Regions from separate parts of the Homo sapiens genome. Here all the other regions are linked to region 4. Evidence: promoter capture Hi-C in 16 types of primary human blood cells and fetal thymus (Javierre and others, 2016). All regions are on one chromosome and are shown on one strand. Each heading gives the region's core, a stretch centred on a gene start or on the middle of the fragment in contact. The rest is flanking DNA. Distances are from core to core; before and after follow the strand shown. Region 1 overlaps FGGY (FGGY carbohydrate kinase domain containing). Region 2 overlaps FGGY (FGGY carbohydrate kinase domain containing). Region 3 overlaps FGGY (FGGY carbohydrate kinase domain containing). Region 4 holds the start of MYSM1 (Myb like, SWIRM and MPN domains 1). Region 5 overlaps FGGY (FGGY carbohydrate kinase domain containing). Region 6 overlaps FGGY (FGGY carbohydrate kinase domain containing). Region 7 overlaps FGGY (FGGY carbohydrate kinase domain containing).

Region 1 (3,268 bases), core at 718-3,217, 990 kb after region 4:
GTAGTGAAAAAGAAAGTTGGATAGATAGGACCACAGTTGATTACAGGTAGGGGTTGTTAACCACAAACAGATCAATTAGGAATTTGATCAGCAGTCTTGGGAGTACTTTTTGCTCAGTATTCCCTTATCCTTTAACTGTCTTTTAAAAAAATGTTGCAAGCTGATAGTCTCACTTTAAAAAAAAAAACGTTAAGTCCTTCTTAGATAATACTGCTTTCTGCTTAAGAAAAATAGCTTTTAAATTAGTTCAGCCTGTGAGTAATAATAAAAGTTTATTACTTATCTCTCACAGTTTTGAAGAGTCTCTAAAATAGAAGGGAATACTCTTTAAATGCCCCTAAAGTGCTATCCTCTTTCACTACAGTTCATTTGTGTATAGGGTGTTATAAAATCACACATTTGAGAATTTCAGGATGGAGAAAGCACCTTCTGAAGCAATGTCATTGAGAGATGGGGAGCAAGCCACTTTCTACCAGCTCAAAATCTACTCCCTCCTCCCTCCCCAACCCCTCCCTGACACCTGGGCCTAGAGGAGCCTGTGTGTTGGATAGAGTTGACGGCAGTGAAATTCCTACCAAGTTGGCCCTTTCAGTTTCACCTGTCAGTGTCTCTGATGAAGAGGGATCTTGACAAACCAGACTGGTTTGGATAATTGGACTACAGCAGTTGTCTTCATCTCAGTAAACTGACTAACCACTACAGAGGCTGGAGGAGAAATTTATAGAAAATCCTAAAATGGAAATTGAAGCAAGTGTTTCAATGACTAGGAAACAACAGGCTTTAGTGAGGTTCCAACATATTATAGTATGGTGGGGTGCTGGGACTCCTGTCTTCAAGGGGCCCCTAAAAGTGATAGAGGGGATTCATTTAGTATGCCCCAGCTGCCATTTAAGCACTTTGTGGTTATTGGCTCACTTAGTCCTCACAACGGTCCCATGAGATCCTGATATTAGTTGTACTTTGCACACAAGGAACCTGAATCACCAAGAGGCCACGCGCTTTCCCAAGCTTACATAGCTGGTAAAAGGTGAAGCTCAGATACAAACCCAGATTTTCTGACTCTGTGGTCTGTTCACTGTAAATACTGAAACCCATCTCTATAAAGCTCCTTTGGGAAACTCATCTTGGTGAGGCCCACCTCTACACGGCCCTACCCCCATGTGCCCATCTCTTGCACCGCCCTTAGATGTTGCCATGTTTGCTGATCTCACTCAAGTGTGAGCTTCCATATAAGGGTCCAAGTCTTACTGATCCTTAGCCAGTAGTCAGTGCTGGATACATGTATGCTGTACCAGACTGGAGGTGAAGTTTTACAGAGACTTTGTAATCTTCCTGAAGCTGGCTAAGAAGGCAGCCACCTGTGACTAGTTACACAGAAACCCAGCCACTTAAAGCAGTGGCACTGCTGGGGATGGACTTAGATTTAAAGTCGCTAGCAGGTAAAATCTGACCTATGTCTCCAGAAACAACTTTACTTGTGCACATTAGCTGTGACTGTAAACTGCTGCTTAACGGTTCTCACTTGCTCTAATTTTTCAAAGACTGACTCCCCAGTCATTAGAGTCTGTTCTGTTACTAGTAACTCAGTGGATGATCTGGAACAAGAGGTCTACCTCTTTGGGCCACAGTTTCCTCATCTTTAAACTGAAAGAATCAGATTCTGGTTTTCAAAAATGTAAAGCAGTGGAACCTTTGGGAGGCCAATACAGAAAACAGAAGGTGAACTGTGTCTCTGGCTTATCCATCACACCCTCTTTCCCCACTGCCTGGCAGCCTTGGAGGGTCTTTGCTGAACATAAGCACTGGACTAGATCTTTCCAAAGGAAATAACTGAAAATATTATAATGTTTAATAATGATACTTAATAATTCAATAATAAAGTAACTTCAAAATAGCCTAGCCTACCTTGAGAAAAGCAGGTTGGAGGGCCCTCACCATGGGGTCACTGTGCCTGTCTGTGTTACTGTCAAACATTGTGTGTTCCAGGCACGGAGGGGTGTCAGCTCAGCCTGATAATGTACAGTGGATTGGGGAAGCTAAAGCCTCTGGGCCTCATTCTCCTTGGCTGAAAACAGACTGCGTGTCATGGCACTGGTGAATTAGAAATTCTATCCAGCCACTCTTGGAGATTGATTTTCCGTCTGGGGATCTGACCTCTTGCTTCACTAGCAGAGGGGATCAGACTGTTCTGGGAGGAGTCAACGAGCTGGCCCTCAGAAAAGCCTTCTCTTTCTTTTTTGTTCTTTTTTTTTCTTTTCTTTTTTTTTTTTTTTTAACTGTATGTTTCAAAGGGAAAGTCTGATTACTTTGGGGACTTAACACTACCAGTTTGAATTCTTCTTGGTACTTACAGCCTTAAGATATCCATACACCCCCACATCCGTCCTTTGTGCTAGAAGATTACTGAAGATTTAATTCCATTTATGTCATTGGATTTGTAAAAAACCCCTTTTGGATTCAAAGATGAAGGCCTCACTTACTTTATTTTTGTCATTTTCACAGACCCCTTATGTAAATGCCTCAAGAGTAAGAATCTTGCTCAAGTGATTTTTGTATCTCCAATGGCTAACAAGGAGCCTGACATAGAGTAGCTGCTTGGTAAATATGTGTTCATTCATTCAACAAATACCCCCAAGGTACAACGATAAGAAAAATAACTATAGTCCTAATACTGATCACCTCTGCAGTTGACTGGAAGAGACAGTTAAAAAGATAAGTACAAATAAATGTATCTTGGGTTAAGTGCTATAAAGGAAAAGAACAGGTTCAATGGAAGGAAAAATTAGAATTGTTGATACATGAATGGAAGTAAATGACCCGGACTTCCAACTCTAAATCTCTGTCTCATTTCACCTCTTTGTAAATAATCATTGCTATTATGTTAAATATCACAACTACTGTCATTTCTTGTTTACCCACTACATTCTAAGCTTGGTGCTGACATCTTTGTATTTATTATATAAAATTCTCAAAATTACTCTGCCCGTTAGGCTTTCTTATCACTTATTCCAAATGCAAAAATAAGGTCCAGGGAAGATAATTATGTAACTTGTTCATGATTGGAGAGCTAATAAGTGTCAGAGATGAATTGAACCAAAGTTGGTGTGACAAAGCCTCTGTTTTAAGCAAAAGGGAAAAAAAATTCTCATTAACTCCAAGGATTATCATCAGGAGTCCAACAGGGTTCCCAATTTGGGAACTACTATATCATTATCATATGGCAAATGGTCCACTATGTTAGATGAGAGGACAAAAAAAAAAAAAAAAG
Region 2 (3,231 bases), core at 150-2,649, 870 kb after region 4:
TCTAATGGAAAACTTTCAAAAAAACTGCTTTAAGCTCTTTCAGAGTAGCAATTATATCTTTACTTCATTGTTTCCGTAGTGCCTAGCAGAGCACCTTGTACATAGACAGTACTCTAAATTTACACTTGATGAATATAAGAGTGAAGTAAATAAATGTAAAATTAATGTAAAATGAAGGAAAACAAGTTTGAGAATCAGTCAGTTCCTGCCAGATTTGGAGCACACTGAGGAATCCCTTTATCTCCATCCTTTCAAATAAAATATCTCTTGGTAGGTCTGGGTAAGACATACTGAGAAGTCATGACTTGGACAAAGTACCTGGTAGAATCTGCCAACAATTAGAGATTGTGGAATTCTTATTTTCTCATGGAAAGCAGGATGGAGTGAAACAGTGAGAGATCCTGTTTGTAGTTCTGTGCAGACAAACCCAGAAACCAGAACGCAGACACACCAGGACGCAACAGGAAACCACAAAGGCCTGAGATCTTTCAATGTAAATAGGAAGTCAGAGTTTACTTCCGAACCCACAGTGCCAAGCTGAAGTGCAGTGTTTAATCCAGCTCTCTACCCAGCCCTTCCTTGAGCCTGGGCACAGATGAAAGATGATGATGCCACCTGGGTAAAAGCATTCAAAAATGTTTGTTCTGATCAGGTCTTGGAGTGAGCTTCTTTTGTTTGTGCTAGTGAATAATTTGGGACACAGGTGCACTTTGCATTTGAAAGCGTTAATTGGTCTCCTTGGTTTTCCCTGCCATGATATTTGAAGCCACATCTTCCTCCACAAAGTAATTTTAATCCATATACATTCAAAAAGCACTTGTCATGGACAGCCGTCTTTCATATACCCCATCTGTGGACCCCTGGGTCCAGGTGCAGAGTAGTGGAACATTGGTGATGCTTAATATGTACTCTGTGTTCATTGCATTGACATCTGTAATCTCATTTGATTACTACTATTACACTGGGAAATAATTAATAGGATACGATCATCACCATTTTGAAATAAGGAAAATGTAGTCTGGTAGAAAACACATGGATGTTAAAGTTAGGCAGATCTGTGTTCATGTCCAAAAGACTTAAGCTTTCTTACCAGACTGCTTTATTTTATGTAGCCAGTTGTTTAGAGCATTCACTCTGTGCCAGGTACTGGAGAGAAAATGGTGAGCAGTAGACCTAGACTGTACAGTGTAGTGGAGGAGATGAATACTCAGCAAACAATTACAAAAATGTATAATTACAGACCTTGATAAGTGCTTTGCTTTCATACCCTGCTGGGGGAAGTATAAATTGGGCAGTCACTTTGGAAAACAGTGAGGCATTGTCTGATCAATTTGACTGTGCACATGCCCTGTACTCTACCAATTCCATTCCTAGGTAGGAAGCTGGAGAAACAATTGTACTTGTGTACCAGTAAGTGCCCAGAGACAAGTAAGTACAAGAGTATTCATAGCATTATTTTTTATAATAGCTACAAATTTGAATCAACTCAAATTTCATCAATAATAGCATGAATAACTAAGTTGTATTATATTCATACAGTGGTAGACATACTTAAAATGTAGGAACTACAGCTACATATGACAACATAGATGGATCAAACAATTTTAAGTGGAAGAAACAAGACATGAAAGAGATACATACAGAATTATTTCATTCATAGAAAATTCAAAAAGAAGCAAAAAAGACAATGTCTTTTAAAAAATGCCTACAAAAGCACTAAGCTTAGAAAAGACAAGCAAGGGAATAATTACCACAAATATCAGGACACTGGTGAATTAGATGGCTTGGAATTGCAGGTTGTTGAGGTTAAAAGATGCTTTCAGGAAGAGCTTGAGGGAACTAGCATTTGCTTCTGAAGGATACATGAGTACTTAACAGTTTTTTTAATGTTCACATAAGTTTTATACACTCCTCTGTATGTATGATATGTAAGTGCTAGAAAGCAGAGAAGCTATCAGAACATAGAGCCAAGTGCCATATAATTTGGGTGGTCTAGAAGGCAAGGCAGTGATGTTTGAGCTGGGAGATTTTGATTAGGTAACTAAGCAGAGAGCCTGACGGGGAGGGAGTAGGGTTGTGCATGGCAGTGGTCAAGAGAAAAAATTTGTTCAGAAAGAGAGTACAGAAGAATAAGCAGAAGGAAATTGGCAGCTTTGGTGTGGGGCAAGAGAGAAGAATGCTACAAGTAAAGGCTGGAGAAGCAAAAAGGGGTAGCATATGCTGGGCTTGTAAGCCTTCTGAGGGATTTTAGTCTTTTATGTAAGAGAAACTGAAAGGTTTTAAGCACAGTGGATAAGATAATTGAATTACAAAGGATGGAAATAATTCCAGTTTGGAGAACAAATTGGCAAGAGACCTGAGTGGTACTAGGATACTAGGAAACCAGAAGAAGACTGGGAGTCTGTGTGAGAGATGATATCATACTAACTTGTCTCAGATTATGGTGGGGGAGATGAGATGTCGATATATTGGAAAGATGTTTAGAAGATAAAATCAGCAGCACTTCCTTGGTGTGAAAACTGTTGAGGCTGCAGGGCAAACACAATAGAGGCTTATTAGGTATCTCACCCAAACTCCTAAGATGAGCTGCTCCCCAGTGAGTAGAGATATCTGGAGAGAGAGCAGTAGTCGTTCAGGCATTCCTTGGACAGACTGGATTCACTAGAGAGAAACATTTTTGGTTTGCACTGTCAGCTTTGTTTTTAGGTTGTTTTAAATATTTTACCCTTGTCTCTTATGAAAGGTCTTCTCAAGAAGTAGCCATGTGGACACGATATTGCTTTGGTAGTAATTCTGCCAAAAATGCCTGACTTGAATCTGATCATGAGGAAATATCAGAAACCCAAATTGAGGGAGATTCTATAAAATAACTTGCCTCTAGTCTTCAAAAATGCCAAGGTCATAAAAGAAAAACTACAGGAAGATCAAAGGAGACGAAAGAGACATGATATCTGAAGGACATGTGTGATGCTGAATTGAATTGGAGAAACTTTTTTAAAAGTTTTATTGTAAAGGACATTTAGTGGATAATAGATGACATTCTAATAAGATCAGTAGATTAGATAATAGAATTGTATCTATGTATACTTCCTGATAATTGTATTATGGATATATAAGAGAATATCCTTGTTATTATAAAATACACACTGAATTATTGAATATTTTGGAGTAAAAGGACATTATGTCTGCCACTTTCAAATGGTTCAGAAAAACTACATACATATACACATA
Region 3 (2,989 bases), core at 474-2,973, 970 kb after region 4:
GTGGGCGGATCACCTGAGGTCAGGAGTTCGAGACCAGCCTGACCAATATGGAGAAACCCCATCTCTACTAAAAATACAAAAAAAAAAAAATTAGCCAGGCGTGGTGGCGCATGCCTGTAATCCCAGCTACTGGGGAGGCTGAGGCAGGAGAATTGCTTGAACCTGGGAGGCGGAGGTTGCAGTGAGCCGAGATTGCGCCATTGCACTCCAGCCTGGGCAACAAGAGCAAAACTCCATCTCAAAAAAAAAAAAAAAAAAAAAGCATACAGTCTAAGGGCAGAACTATTGGGATGTGAAGTATAGAAAGTATTACCATTAACCAAGCACCTACTATGTGTCAGTGTGAATCACGCTGTAGACACTTAATCCTCCCATACCACCAAAGGTAGAAATCGGTGCCCCCATCTTACAGACAAGCAAGTTGATGGGTGGGTAGGTGAATTAAATTGGCTATCTAAAGTCAAACAGCCAGTATGGGGCAGGACCAATATTGTAACTGTGGTGTGTCGGGGCCCACCGTCCCTTTGTACTGTACTGCTGACCCAGGTTTCTTGACTTTTCTGCCAAGTTTGTAACCAGTTGATGATGACGCCACTTTCCTGAGATGTCCAAAACCCTATAGAAGTGGGCCGTTCAAAGCAGAAGGAGGAAAGACATAAAAAGAGCCCAGATTGCCTTATAATTGTCCTCAGGAGAAAAACCATAACATTTTATCTAAAAATCAGCTGGCTAGTTCAGATAACATTCAAGCTTAAAATTTGATCTGTGACATTCCAATTTCTAGACTTCTTTTTTTTTTTTTTTTTTTTTTTTTGTATTTTTTGGTAGAGACAGGGTTTCACCATGTTGGCCAGGCTGGTCTTGAACTCCTGACCTCAAGTGATCCACCCGCCTTGGCCTCCCAAAGTTCTGGGATTACAGGCATGAGCCACCGCACCCGGCCCCAATTTCCAGCCTTCTGATAGCCAAAAAACTTCCTATCTGGATGCAAGAGGAAAGATGAAAGTCAGCTTTGGAGAACACAGTACTCTAGAAAATGGGAAACAGGGCCTCCCAGAGCAGAACAGCTAGCTGTGAGTGACCCCGGCACTGACTCCGCGCTGCAGCCCTGGACTTTGTGAAAATGGGTCATCTTCCAGGCCCTACATCCCTGGGCTGACTCAGAAGCACGGCGGGGAGTGCAGCGGCTTCACAGAAAGTTCTGCTTTGGAAACTGTTCTCCTCTAGGCTGTTGAATGAAAAGGCTGTTAATCGTTATTTGGATTCCGATTGAAACTGGACCTTTTGTCTCTAACTATGGACCAGTTACAGTTCCAGACAAAGAGACCTTTTATTTAGCCTGGAATTCCTCTGCCTTTGGAAGCCTGTGACTGACAAGTGATGGCAAAGTGCATCTGCCTTTGAATGCTTTGGGTTCTGCTAAACTCATTAATGCATCAGATAAAATAGTTCACATTCCAGCCAAAGCTGCCCTCTTCCTCTCCTTCACCCAGGACTCAGAGAAAAGAACACATTTGCATTTGTCCCTGTAAAAGGCACGTACACAAGCAGCCAGTATAGAGGTAGTGTCATTGGTGCCTTTAAACATTGTATTGCTCTAGTTTTCCTACAAAGACAGTTAGGGAGGACTGTAGACCTGGAACATGATTCTCAGAAATGCATGTGAAAAACACATTCGAATTTGGGAGATTTTTTTGGAGATAGTGTGGAACAGTGGAAAAAGCAGATCAGCTCTGTGACTTTGGGCAAGTTACTTTACCTCTCTGAGCCTCAGTTCCCTCTTCTGAAACAAACAAACCAAAAAACATTATCATCTCCCTCATGTAGATCACTGCTGAGGAATAAATGCTTGCGAGTTTGTGAGCATCAAACTCTGTGCCTAGTCCAAGTAGGTGATCAGTAAATGTCAATTCTCTTATTCCATCTAGGAAGCCCCATGCCAAAAAGAAAGAGGGGCATTTGAGGGAAAAAAAAAAGCAGCTTATTATTTTGAAAGTGAATCTTTGCCATGTTGAGAACAGCCTGCTCTGTACAAGCAGGGAGAGCGGGGCCTTGCCAGCTTGGGAAATGCTGTCTACATGAGGAGGAAGAACCTCCTTGTACCCTGGTCATTTGGTTAACTGTGGTTTCAAGAAATACTTGGTATGTACTAAGTAATTGTTAAGTTTCCCCCACTGACTTGGGACTAAATGTTCCTTCTTCTAAGTTTTATTTTTTAGTACTGGTAGTTTCAGTAGGGGTTTCCCTCTTCTGGTCTTACTCATTATTTTAATTATTTGTTCTTTCATTTATTCACTCAAAAGCATTCTCTGTGCACACCAGTGTGCCAAGCCCTGAGGTTGGCACAGGGATGCTAAGAAGAACAGTAATGTCCAGCCAAGAGGTTCTTTATAAAACACAGAAAAAGTGCCCTTGGTCTTATGACCAATATCCAGAGTGAGTAGAGTGGGGACCCAGAGGACAAAATGTGTCGGTGTCAGTCAGGTCCAGGCAGGGAACAGATACACACTCCAGTTAGGTTAACCGGAGGGAAGTTGAATAGTCAGTGTACAGAGCTGTGGGCAGGGTGCTGGAAGCCCAGACAACCAAGAAGTACCTTGGGATACTAACAGTGTTTCCACCCCTGGGCTCACAAGGGTGAGGGTAGGGAGCAGGCAATCTGAGCCTGGTGGGATGTGTGAAGAGGGCAGCCCAGCAGAAGCTTAGCCAAGGATGAAACCAGAGGGCAGGGGCCCACAGCTGTGATCCCCACTGGCCAGTCTCCCAGGCTCAGAGTAGGTGGAGGGAGGAAGGGAAGAGGTGGGATTGGTCTTAGAGGCAAATGGAAGCAGTGGATTGATTTCACCCTGGGTAACAGGTGTGAGGAGAGACTTCAGAAGTAAGGTAAACTTTAAGAATAACAACTAATGCTAATTTAGTGCTTTCTCTAAGCCAAGCACCATTTTAAGAGCCTTATTATAATAGCAGTTTTAATTCTCACAGCAACTCT
Region 4 (2,894 bases), core at 276-2,775:
AGAAAGAGAAAAGGGGAAAAATGAAACACAATCAGAAAGATAAATCTATGGAAGAAGCATACAGCCAATGCCCTCAGGTGACCAATCTTCAGTGTTTCCAAGGCCAGCTCATTTCTTTCTAGACTGCAGATAAGTATCCCTGCCAACCTATTTCATTAACTTGTTGCGAAAAGTAAATTAAATCAAACATGCAAAAGCACTTGGTCAAGATTTAAACACTAAATGAATGTCAACAAGTATTGTTATTAAGGGCTCCCTACTCATCTGCAAAGCTTTGAGGGACAATGACCATATGAGTTTAATCACCCCTCACGTCTTTATAGGGCTTTAGAGTTCATGATACACTTCTAAACACACTATCTTAGTGCCTCAAGCGCTGGGTTAGTACTTCTCCCCTGTTCACAGAGGCCCTAATATTAGGCTGAACTACATGAAGTTGCCGCTTTATAGAACAAAAATGGTCTAAATATTGGCAATTTCATATGGTTCAAGCTAATACAGTTCTAAGGAAATTGTACATAATTATAAACAACATAGCTGGCTGACTTTAGAACTCAGGCTTTCTGATTCCTGGCTAGTCTAGGACTCTTCATGACTAAAAGGAGACTCATTTTTGATTCAGAAAGCAAGGAGTCAAAGGAGGTTCTGTGTCAAATCACACTGGGCTGTTTGTTCTGCTGGAACAGGTATTTTAAAAAATGTGATCCCTTACTGGATTCTCACAGTACTGTCCCCGAGGGTAACAGGATGGTAAAGAATACATTCAGAGGGCACCTACCGTATGCTAAAGCATATCTCATAATCATTTCATTTGATCCTCCCAATTACATATCATGACTCCCAGTTTAAATATGAGCAGTCTGAGGCTCAGACAAGTTAAGTGTCTTGCCCAAGGTCACATTGCTATTAACTGGTAGGGCGAGCAAATGCAGAAGGAAAACCCAGAACTGTCCAACTCTAAAACCTGGCCCATTTAAGTCAACCTGCTTCTCGGGAAGTTTTACAACTATCCCCATGTGGAAGAAGGGATGAAACGACTCGCCCAAGGTCACACGGCTAGCAAGCCATAGAACAAGAGTCCCTGACCTCAGGTCTCGTCCGTAGCCGCTCTTGTTCTAGTTACTGTCGATGAGATCCTGAAAAGGAGGGAACGGAAGAAGGAATCTAAATGTAAATCAAACGCAATGTGGTAGGCGAAATCGGTGCCCTCACAGCATCCGGCAAAAGGTGAAAGCGACCCAGGAGTACCTGAGCTCCAGGTAACCGCCCTGCCCGCTGGGCTTGGGACAAGCCGGCGGGCGAGGTGCCTCCCAGGCCAACAAGAGACCCTGGCCCAGGGGACAGTCTTCTGTTCCCTTTTCCCTTGCCGGACCTGCAGCTTTCCCAGGGCCCGCTCCTTCAATCCACTCCCCTCTCCGCCCCAGAGAGACCCGGTCTCTAAGCCTCACCCTGGCTGTGCCCCCGCCGCCGCTACCACGTCCCCTTCGATATCCACATCCGCCTCTTCAGCCGCCATGATGGGACCTGACCCCGTCCGTCCTCCCGAGAGATCCCGCGAGACGAAGATGGCCCGGGGGCAGGGCCTAACGCGTCACGGGGCGGGATTGAAGCGTCGTCCGGCCCCTCCCGTGCCGGGAGGCGGGGTTTCCAGAGCAAAGGCGCCCCCAGAGGCCTGGGGCTTGGTCCTTTCTAACTTGTTGACATGTAGAGACCTTGGGAAGTGGCCCACGCCTGAGCTTTTTTTTTTTGAGAGGGAGTTTCACTCTTGTTGCCCAGGCTTGGGTGCAATGGCGCGTATCTCAGCTCACTGCAACCTCCACCTCCCGGGTTCAAGCGATTCTCCTGCCTCAGCCTCCCAAGTAGCTGGGATTACAGGCATGCGCCACCACGCCCGGCTAATTTTTGTATTTTTAGTAGATACAGGGTTTCACCATGTTGCCCAGCTGGTCTCGAACTCCCGACCTCCCGACCTCAGGTGATCCGCCCGCCTCGGCCTCCCAAAGCTCTGAGATTACAGGCGTGAGCCACCGCGCCCGGGCCCTCCTGAGCTTCTAAGAGCTTCTGTTCTTGCACACATTCTTTGGGACCTCACTGCTCTCACTGATAAAATGGGGATAACAGCAGTATCTTTCTGGACTGATGAAAAAGTCAAGCTAGACCCGCTTTGTGAACTGAAGGTTGCATACCTGCTGGTTATTTAAGTCTCTCTCTTTGTTTTTTAAAGAAAAGGGTCGTGCAGCACTTATGTGAAGTCGTTCAGCATTTCACCTAAGTGCTGAACAACTTTTATTTTAAAATTCAACAAATATTTAAGAATATAACTTATGATTGTGTAATTTATTTTGTAGACGTCTTTGCAATTTAAAAATCACGCTCATGACCATTAATCCTTACAGTGTCCCAGTGAGGTAGGCAGAGCTAATATCACCAGTTATACTTTACAGGTGAGGTAACTGAGGCCTGGAGAGCTGAAATGACTGTCCAAGGACAGGTAGCTTCAAAGACAGAGCCAGGAGTAGAATCCAGGCTTTGTTGACCCTCTACTGAGTGCTCACCATGTAACAATCATGTTGTTAGAAATTGGAGGATAAACACCACTTCTGTCTAGTTTATAGTTTCTCAAGAAATTAGATACTGACAGCCAGATGCGGTGGCTCACACCTGTAATCCCAGCACTTTGGGAGGCCAGGGAGGGCGGATCACAAGGTCAGGAGTTCGAGACCAGCCTGACCAACATGGTGAAACCCCGTTTCTACTAAAAATACAAAAATTAGCTGGGCGTAGTGGTGGGCAACTGTAGTCCCAGCTACTCAGGAGGCTGAGGCACAAGAATCGCTTGAACCCAGGAGGCAGAGGTTGCAGTGAGCCGAGATCACGCCATTGCATTCCAGCCT
Region 5 (3,028 bases), core at 238-2,737, 790 kb after region 4:
TTCAGCATTAAAAAGGGAGGGAATTATGACACATACTATAGCATGGATGAATCTTGAAGATACTATGTTAAATGAAATAAGGCAGTCACAAAAGGACCAATACTGTATGATCCTTCTTATATGGGATACATAGAGTAGTCAGATTCATAGAGATAGAAAGTAGAATGATAGTTACCAGGGATTTGGGGGAAGGGGGAAAGGAGAAGTTAGTGTTTAATGGATATAGAGTTTCAGTTTTGCAAGATGAAAAATGTTCTAGAAATGGGTGGTTGTAATGATTTCATGATGTGTGAATGTACTTAATACAACTGAATTGTATGCATAAAAACAGTTAAGATAGTAAATGTTATCTTACATATATTTTACCACAATTAAAAAATTTTTAAAAACAATGAAAAATAATTCCACTTTACATTTATTTTATTCTCTTCTTGGGGGAGATAGAGACTAATTAATGTATTCAATGTGTTGCTTAAAATTAAATCTATTATTTCTTAGTTTACAGCTAAGATGAGCCTTTTTAGGGCTAAATCACTTGCCCTGGTCACAGATCTAGTCATTGGCAGCCTAGGGTTTGATTCAGTTCTGGGAGGAAGGCAGGGTTTGTATCTGCTGTGATACATAGATCAGTTCGATTCATTCTTTCATTAGCCAGCATTAGAACACCTTTTTCATTCCAGCACTCTTGAAGGTAGCAGTAAGCAAGACAGTAAGGTTACATCACATTACCATGTGAGATGGAGAAACCAGACAGTAAGCAAGTATATACATAAACAAGACAAATGCAAATGTGGCTAATTGTTATGATGGAAATAAAGTGCTGGCTGAAATGTGGGTAGGGAAGGCTTCTCTAAGGAGGAGACTTCAGAGTTGTGACATCAATGTGGAGATGGCCTAATCAGTGTGAACATGTGGGCAGGAGTGTTCCTGGCAGAAGCAACAGCAGGAGCAGAGGCCCAGGGCTGGGAATAAGGTTGGCATGTTTGAGAAGATAGAAAAGACCAGTTTAGCAGAATGTACTGAGGAAGGGGAAGGACAAGTGATGGGGTAAGAGGTGTAAAAAATGCAGAACCTTGTGAGCCTTGGAGTAAAGCAGCCAAAGCTTTCCTAGGTATACAGAAAGCCACTAGAGGGGTTTCAAAGGGAAATGATGATTTTACTTTTTAACATTCTGTTGGCTTTCACTTTGTATCTACTGTATAGCAGATGGTAGGTTGTAGATACCAGAAATGCAATATGTAATACTGTTGCCCACAAGGAAATTATGGTCTGGTGAGGAAGAAAGAGCAGAGAGTGCCAGAAAAATATAGCAGCATATTCCACAGTGTACACTTTGGGGTACTAGAGGTGATTTTTAGGAAACAAAAATTCTTTATAGTAGAACAATTTATATTCCTTTGGGTATATACCTACTAATGGGATTGCTGGGTAAAATGGTTCTTTGAGAAAGAAGTTCTCTAAGTTCTTTGAGAAATCACCAAAGTGCTTTCCACAATGGCTGAATGAATTTACATTCACACCACTAGTGTATAGGCATTCCCTTTTCTCCACAACCTCACCAGTATCTGTTATCTTCTGACTTTTTAATGATAGCCATTCTGACTGATGTGAGATGGTATCTCATTGTGATTTTGATTTTGATTTCTCTAATGATTAACACTTTTTCATATGTTTGTTGGTTGTATGTCTTCTTTTGAAAAGTGTTCATGTTATTTCCCCATTTTTTAATGGGGTTATTTTTCGCTTGTTAATTTGCTTAAATTCCTTAAATATTCTGGGTATTAATCCTTTGTTGGATGCATAGTTTGCAAATATTTTCTCCTATTCTGTAGGTTGACTGTTTACTCTATTGATAGTTTCTTTTGCTGTGTGGAAGCTTTTTAGTTTAATTAGGCCCCATTTGTCAATTTTTGCTTTTGTTGCAATTGCTTTTGACATCTTCATCGTGAAATCTTAGCCAGAGCCTATGTCTAGAATGGTATTTCCTAGGTTTTCTTCTAGGGTTTTTATAGTTTTAGGTTTTATATCTAAGTCTTTAATCTATCTTGAATTGATTTTTATATATGGAGTATTGATTTTATATATGATTTTTATATATGGTATACAATTAGGTATATAATACCTAATTGTATTTCCTAGGTTTTCTTCTAGGGTTTTTATAGTTTTAGGTTTTACATCTAAGTCTTTAATCTATCTTGAATTGATTTTTATATGTGGTATAAGGAAGGGGTCCAGTTTCAATCTTCTGCATATGGCTAGTTATCCCAGCACCATTTATTGAATTGGGGGGAGGGGTCTTTCCTTATTGCTTGTTTGTGTCAACTTTGTTGAAGATCAGATTGTTGTAGGTGTGTGGCTTTATTTCTGTGCTCTCTATTCTTTTCCATGGATCTATGTGTCTGTTATTGTACTAGTGTCATACTGTTTTAGTTACTGTAGCCTTGGAATATAGTTTGAAGTCAGGTAATGTGGTGCCTCCAGCTTTGTTCTTTGTGCTTAGGATTGCTTTGTCTATTCGGGCTCTTTTTTGGTTCCATATGAATTTTAGAATAGTTTTTTCTAGTTCTGTGAAAAATGTCATTGGCAGTTTGATGGGAATAGCATTGAATCTGTAAATTACTTTGGGCAGTATGGCCATTTTAATAATATTGATTCCTCCTTTCCATGAGCATGGAATGTTTTTCCATTTATTTGTGTCATCTCTGATTTCTTTCAGCAGTGTTTTGTAATTCTCGTTGTAGAGATCTTTCACCTCTCTGGTTAGCTGTATTCCTAGATATTTTTATTTTTTGTGTCACTATTCAAAATAGCAAAGACATGAAATCAACCTAGATGCCCATCAACAGTGGACCGGATAAAGAAAATATGGCACATGTATACCCTGGAATACTACACAGCCATTAAAAAGAATAAGATTTTGTCCTCTGCAGCAACATGAATGGAGCTGGAGGCCATTATCCTAAGCAAACTAATGCAGGAACAGAAAACCACATACTGCATATTCTCACTGGTAAGTGGGAGCTAAACA
Region 6 (3,105 bases), core at 601-3,100, 850 kb after region 4:
TCTCATTTAATTCTCACAGCAACTTTGTGGGTGAGTATTGCTATCCAAATTCTTCAGATATGGAAATTGAAGTTCTAAGGGGTCAAGGCATCTTTGCCCAAGGGGATGAAAGAGGGATTCAAGTCTAACTCTGAAGAAGTAGATAAACAACAAAAACAGCAATAACAATAATAAAAGTAATAAAAACAGCAAAGGTTCATATAGTACTAGGCATGTTTTAACCTGTACCGTTCAATATAATATCCACTAGCTATATGTTGCTACTTAAATGTGAATTAATTAGGATAGAATAAAAAATTCAGTCCTCAGTTGTACTAGCCACATTTTCAGGGCTCAATTGCCACATGTGTCTGGTATCTATTGTATCAGACAGTGCAAATATAGAACATTTCCATCATCACAGAATGCTCTTATTAGCACTGTTATGGGTACTTTACACCTATATTAACATATATAATTTTTATAATCTGTGAGGAGGATACTATTCATATTGTAGAGATGTGGAAATTGAGGCATAAGGAAGATAAGAAACATAAAGAAGATAAGAAATCACATGATGAATGAGTCCTTATTTTTAAGCACTGTGCCATAATACTAACTCAATATATTGTGTTCTGTTTAACATAAATGAATGTTAGTCAAAATAATGGACTTCAGTGTCTGCGTGTATGTAGTCTGGTGTTAAGTCTTCTGCAGAGAACACGTCTTTGATATGATTCTTATCCTTCCAGAAGCATACAGTTGTCAATTTGCATGTATAAAGCTGGTGGTCACTAGAGAGTCTTCTCTGGAGCCCTTCCTCTCCAGGAACTCCAGAAACCTCCCAGCCAGCTTTGGCAAGAAACTCACTGGATGGGATTCATCAGTCAGTTCATTCATCCAAATGACTGAATCAAGAGTCTCAAACAGATGTAGTCTTAAATAATGTTCAAAACCCTTCTTATCCTTTTTGATACTTCAGAGAAGGTGCCTGAGGTTATTAAAAGAGAATCTTTTTCAAGATGCCAACACATCAGACTCAAAGACTGAAAATCCTAGTTGAGTCCAACTTCTACCTCTAAGTTACTAAATAAACTCGACTAAATTACTTCACCTTTCTGAAATTCAATTTCTTCAACTGTGAACTGGAAATAAAATACACATATCACAGGATTTTCTAAGGACTAATTGAAGGTTACAGTGTTTGAGGATACTTTGCAAGCTATAAAGTACTTTATATGGCTATAAAGTGGGAGATAATTATAACACAAATGCGAGAACTCAGGATGTTTTTCTTCTATATAACCTTGTAAGCTTTCAAAACTGCCACAGCGTGATAAATTATAGGAAAATGTACTCTTAATCATAACATTTGCAAAGTCTCTTTTTTATTTTACATAAATATAGTAGGGACTCAATGCTTGGGTGGAAGTATTGTTGGTTGGATGAATGGGAGAGATGAAGGGAGACAGCATATTAAATAAGAGAGCTGTTCATGAAGTTTTAAATGTTCCTTTTTTAACATTCTTTTTAAACATTGCTTGATATGAACTATGTGTGTTACATGGAGGGTTGGGAGACATTTAATTCATTGAGTTAGCCTGTTTTTCTGCTATTTGTTTTTTAGTTCAACAAACATTTATTGAGCAACTGCCATCAGTTGGGCATTGTGCAAGTTTCAGGGAAAACACAGTTGATGATGTCACTGTTTTTTTATGCCTGTTTCTTCATCTGCTAATTTTTCTCCTTAAACATTTTGAGGATTGCAGAATAAACTGACACTGGTATGGTCATATGAAGGGCCCCAGCGGTACCGAGGGCTGCACTTGTGTCAAATTGTTTCCTGATGTACACATGCAGCCTGTGAGTTCTCTGTGGATGGCAAAATATGTTTCTCCGGAAAGAAGAAAGCTCCTCCCACCTTTTCTTGCTTTTCCCTGCTTATCTCTGAACCTCTTTTCTCGGGGATAGCCCATCAAAGCACTGTGTGGCCAAAGGAAAAATAAGATGTCAGCTCTCCGACTCATGTGGTCTTGCAGTGAACATCAGCTATGCATGGCTGCTGAATTGGGGTGGACATTAGGCAGAGTGTAGAGAACCTCTTGAGGGGAAATGAGGCCAGTCCTGCCCAATATATATAATTTTAGGTAAGGAGATACCTCAGCTTGTATTTTAGGAGAAGCACTGTGTATATACTGAGAATGGCTGAGGAAGGACCTCCATTTGTAATTCATTTCTCTCATTGTGGGGATGAGAGAACCAGTTCAAACTTTTAGGCCATTTGTGGCAGAATTGGGGCTGAAACTCTTGTTTTTCTAACTCTTAGCCCATGGCTCTCACTGAGTTTCATGGTGAACTAGCACTTCCAAGTATGTTTTCATTATGTAAGACAATTATAACATCATAAAGTGAGGAGTATAGAAAGAACATAAGCTTTGGAGTCAGACAGAACAAGGTCAAATCCTGGCACTGCTTCTTAAATCCATGTGGCCTTGGGCAAGTTACCTGAACACTCTGCTCTGTTCTTCTACTTCTGCATCTATTAAGAGGAAGAAAGAATGTTTACCTTTTATGGATGTTGCAAAGATTAAATGAGAGAACATTCAAGGAGCTCAGCACAGTACCCAGCCTATCTTTGATGTTGATATGTTTACTAGAAAGGAAGAATCCAGTTGTCTCTTGAGAGGGGGTTCAGATGATGATGATGGTGATGATGGTGGTGGTGGAGAGAGTGATGGTAGTGATGATGGTGACAGAGCTACCATTAAACATCTCTTTTTAAGCATTTCTGCAATATCACAACAACCATGTGATGTTGTGATTTTCCTCATTTTATAGCAGATCCTTCTGTCTCCAAATTCCATCCTTTTCTCATAATAGCACACTAGTTCTCAGGTTCTAAGTCTAGATATAGCAGCAGTGAATCTGCCAACCCAAGAAGAAACAAATAAATATTTCCTACACATTTCTTTTTCCTTCATTTTAATTCCCTTTTCGTATTGACTGACCCTGTAACATTAACTTTGCCTGTACTTTATGTTTATGCAACCAGTAAATGTGGGTGATTCTCAGGAATTCCTTGAACCTATTTATGATACTGTGGAGCAGCGTGGCCAACTCCTTTTC
Region 7 (3,163 bases), core at 130-2,629, 940 kb after region 4:
TACATGTCTGACTTTGAAATTGTTTTTATGTGGCATTGGGCTAGCAAACCCTGATGCAGCCTTTTTCTGCTTCTCTTGAAAATATTTGTAAAAATGCAAAAAAGTCATGAATTCATGCAGGCCTTAGGAATTAGGATGGTGTTCAACTAGGAAAACTAGAATTGGTATTCCCAATTATATGATGAATGCAACTTGTTTGATAACATCATATATGACATAAGAACAAAGTCATGTGTGATCCACTGTGGAAACAGTTTGGACCTCGCCACCTTCTGCTCCCTTGCATAAAAGCACAAGGTTCTTTTAAACCTGAAAACAGCATAGCTATTCCTCTACTTTACTGCTAATGGTTGGGTTTTTTGTTTTCTTTTTGGAAAGCAGCCAGTGAGTTTAAATTCCTAGATCCCCCCACAACCCTGTTCCCAGCCACTCTTTCAGTTCATTCCATTTGAAAACTGCCAGCTCAAGAATCCACCCAAGCAGGAAGTGTGAATTAGGAGGAAGGGTGATGGCTTGCATTCTAAGCATCTGTTAATGGGGCAGATGTAGGAAAGGCCTTAGTAGTTCTGTAAACTTGGGAGGAAGGGTGTAGTTTGCACTACTAGTTCTAGGCTCGGAAAGCCAGGCAGTGCTGATCTACCTCAGTCCAACAAAGCTACAGAAAATAAAAACTGCTGTACTCTGCCAACTGGCATTTAGCTGTAGATCTGAAGAGACAAATTTAAGTATACAGTGAGTGGGGATAAGAGCAAATCACGGCTGTGTGCGGTGGCTCACGCCTGTAATCCCAGCACTTTGGGAGGCCGAGCCAGTTGGATCATGAGGTCAGGGGTTCGAGACCAGCCTGACCAACATGGTGAAACCCCGTTTCTACTAAAAATACAAAAATTAGCTGGGCGTGGTGGTGGACGCCTGTAATCCCAGCTACTCAGGAGGCTGAGGCAGGAGAATTGCTTGAACCTGGTAGGCGGAGGTTGCAGTGAGCTGAGATTGTGCCACTGCACTCCAGCCTGGGTGACAAGAGCGAGACTCCGTCTCAAAAAAAAAAAAAAAAAAAGAGCAAATCATGTGTACTGTATGCTGGGAAATACTGAACATGTGTACCTGTCTAGTTAGCGTAAATGTTGAAAAATAATGGCCCCTTAGAAAAACCATTACATACGGCTGGACGCGGTGGCTCACACCTGTAATCCCAACACTTTGGGAGGCCGAAGCGGATGGATCACGAGGTCAGGAGATCGAGACCATCCTGGCTAACATGGTGAAACCCTGTCTCTACTTAAAAAAGTACAAAAAAATTAGCCGGGCATGGTGGCGGGTGGCTGTAGTCCCAGCTACTCGGGAGGCTGAGGCAGGAGAATGGCGAGAACCTGGGGGGTGGAGCTTGCAGTGAGCCAAGATCACGCCACTGCACTCTAGCCTGGGTGACAGAGTGAGACTCCATCTCAAAAAAAAAAAAAAAAAGAAAAACCATTACATACAAAGAAAAAAATACCATTGTGAACACTTAAAGGAAAGCCCTCTTGAAAATTATTTACTACTGAAACCAAAAGAAAATGTTAGAGAACTTTGTGGTATATTCAATGGAATATTTTTAATTTTTTTTTAAGAGACAGGATCTTGCTCTTTGTCACTCAGACTGGAATGCAGTGGTGCAGTGGCCTAATCAGAACCCACTGTAACCTTGAACTTCTGAGCTCAAGCAGTCCTTCCATCTCAGCCTCCCAAGTAGCTAAGACTACACAGGCACATGTCAGCATGCCCAGCTAATTTTTAAAATATTTTTTTGTAGAGATGGGGTCTCACTCTGTTGCCAAGGCTGGTCTCAAACTGCTGGCCTCAAGCCGTCTTCCCACTTCAGTCTCCCAAAGTGTTGAGATTATAGGCATGAAACACTGTTCCCAGCCAGAAATTTTGTTTCAAGGCATATCTCTATGAAATAGGCCAGAAACTTATTAGGAAAGAACAAGTTAAGATGAAAGGACAATGGAATGAGAAAAAGGGGGAAATGGCAAAGACCACAAGACAACTAAAAATGCAATCAAAGAATTAAAACCTACATTGAAAGCAATAGGGAGTATAATTTTCACTGAAGAAAATAAGATCAAGGCTGTCATAAGACATAACATATGTTTTAAATTTACTCTATAGGAAAAACATTTTGAGGATAGGAGCAATGGCTTATTTACTTTTTAAAATATCAACAGTTCTTAGGTCAGAAGCTGGCACCAAATAATTGCCTTATGGTCAAACAGTTATTTCAATCACTGTTTGCCAAATGAGGAATGAACAGTGACCTGCCCAAAGTCACAAAGCCAAGAAGTGGCAGCGCTTGCCTTTTAGGATGCAAACTCTGGACTTTGCAAAACGCATGGAGGACTATTAAGAAAGGGAGTTTAAACATGCATTATACATGGTTTCATAGTGAACCATGTTCCTTAAGCTAGTCCTTGGCTCTTCTGTTCTTCTGACCACCAACCTTGTGGCTTGTCCTCCCACTTTTACCCTAACCATGGTCTTTGGATTTAAACTCTGACCCTGTCTCTTCTCAGTAAGGTACTAGTTTCCTTCCCACCCTAACTGACTCAGATTTAAAAAAAAATAGCCACTCGTGGTTTGACCTGGTTCTAATGCCTTCCACACTAGGTGCCTACCTTGGTAAGTAGGAACAGGACATAACCCAGGAATCTCTTCCTTATGCTTGATAGTATCATTTTCTTTTTGTTCTGGTAACAGTTGACTCCTATCATGTGACTAGCTGTTTCATTTTTCTTTTGATGATACAATATCAGCCTGAAGCACTGGACTAAAGAGAGGTGGAGGAGGTGGGGGATGAGCAGCCTAATAGCATGGCTGGACTAGGTACCCCACTATGTAAACATTTCTCCTTTCCAGTTGATAAATGAAGCACAGAAAGGTGAGGGCTACACATACGATTATTTAAAAGAAGCAGAATCTTAAGTAATAACAGTCGGTCTCAAAACAGTAAGCGCTGATGATTTTAGGTTCATTAAAAACAAGACAGACACGCCCCCCCCCACCCAAAGAAAAATGCTTACTTTTAAAGTAAGAAAATGACATGGTCACACATAAAGGTAGATGAATATAGGCCGGGTGCGGTGGCTCACGCCTGTAATCCCAGCACTTTGGGAGGCCGAGGCGG

The links. The method cuts DNA at HindIII sites, captures the fragments that hold promoters and counts their contacts. A CHiCAGO score of 5 or more calls a contact.
Region 1: a fragment that was not itself captured here is called in contact with the fragment with the promoter of MYSM1 in region 4 in 17 of 17 cell types (total B cells, fetal thymus, naive B cells and 14 more); the score reaches 28.2 in total B cells.
Region 2: a contact is called between a fragment that was not itself captured here and the fragment with the promoter of MYSM1 in region 4, in 6 of 17 cell types (total B cells, naive B cells, total CD8 T cells and 3 more). The highest score is 8.7, in total B cells.
Region 3: a fragment that was not itself captured here is called in contact with the fragment with the promoter of MYSM1 in region 4 in 1 of 17 cell types (total B cells); the score reaches 5.7 in total B cells.
Region 5: a fragment that was not itself captured here is called in contact with the fragment with the promoter of MYSM1 in region 4 in 1 of 17 cell types (total B cells); the score reaches 5.2 in total B cells.
Region 6: a contact is called between a fragment that was not itself captured here and the fragment with the promoter of MYSM1 in region 4, in 1 of 17 cell types (monocytes). The highest score is 6.8, in monocytes.
Region 7: a fragment that was not itself captured here is called in contact with the fragment with the promoter of MYSM1 in region 4 in 1 of 17 cell types (naive B cells); the score reaches 6.6 in naive B cells.

Annotation. Positions count from the first base shown.
Region 1 is chr1:59,689,384-59,692,651 of GRCh38, forward strand. The region is part of intron 14 of FGGY (FGGY carbohydrate kinase domain containing); the gene reads left to right. Among named protein-coding and RNA genes, the nearest start is that of MIR4711, 42 kb to the right of the region's middle. The HindIII fragment of the contact is 1,922 bases long and covers 1,007-2,928 here.
Region 2 is chr1:59,570,212-59,573,442 of GRCh38, forward strand. All of the region lies in intron 8 of FGGY (FGGY carbohydrate kinase domain containing), which reads left to right. Among named protein-coding and RNA genes, the nearest start is that of MIR4711, 160 kb to the right of the region's middle. The HindIII fragment of the contact is 640 bases long and covers 1,080-1,719 here.
Region 3 is chr1:59,668,752-59,671,740 of GRCh38, forward strand. The region is part of intron 13 of FGGY (FGGY carbohydrate kinase domain containing); the gene reads left to right. Among named protein-coding and RNA genes, the nearest start is that of MIR4711, 63 kb to the right of the region's middle. RefSeq lists an enhancer at 547-1,101. The HindIII fragment of the contact is 1,951 bases long and covers 749-2,699 here.
Region 4 is chr1:58,698,537-58,701,430 of GRCh38, forward strand. It overlaps MYSM1 (Myb like, SWIRM and MPN domains 1), which reads right to left and starts at 1,526. Exons shown (of 20, transcript NM_001085487.3): 1 at 1,449-1,526. The coding sequence starts at 1,516. RefSeq lists enhancers at 1,021-1,080, 1,291-1,700. The HindIII fragment of the contact is 3,791 bases long and covers 271-2,894 here.
Region 5 is chr1:59,493,447-59,496,474 of GRCh38, forward strand. All of the region lies in intron 6 of FGGY (FGGY carbohydrate kinase domain containing), which reads left to right. The region is part of intron 2 of LOC124904192 (a long non-coding RNA gene); the gene reads right to left. Among named protein-coding and RNA genes, the nearest start is that of FGGY, 200 kb to the left of the region's middle. The HindIII fragment of the contact is 774 bases long and covers 1,101-1,874 here.
Region 6 is chr1:59,548,412-59,551,516 of GRCh38, forward strand. The region is part of intron 7 of FGGY (FGGY carbohydrate kinase domain containing); the gene reads left to right. Among named protein-coding and RNA genes, the nearest start is that of MIR4711, 180 kb to the right of the region's middle. The HindIII fragment of the contact is 1,119 bases long and covers 1,292-2,410 here.
Region 7 is chr1:59,641,588-59,644,750 of GRCh38, forward strand. All of the region lies in intron 11 of FGGY (FGGY carbohydrate kinase domain containing), which reads left to right. Among named protein-coding and RNA genes, the nearest start is that of MIR4711, 90 kb to the right of the region's middle. The HindIII fragment of the contact is 6,550 bases long and covers 1-3,163 here.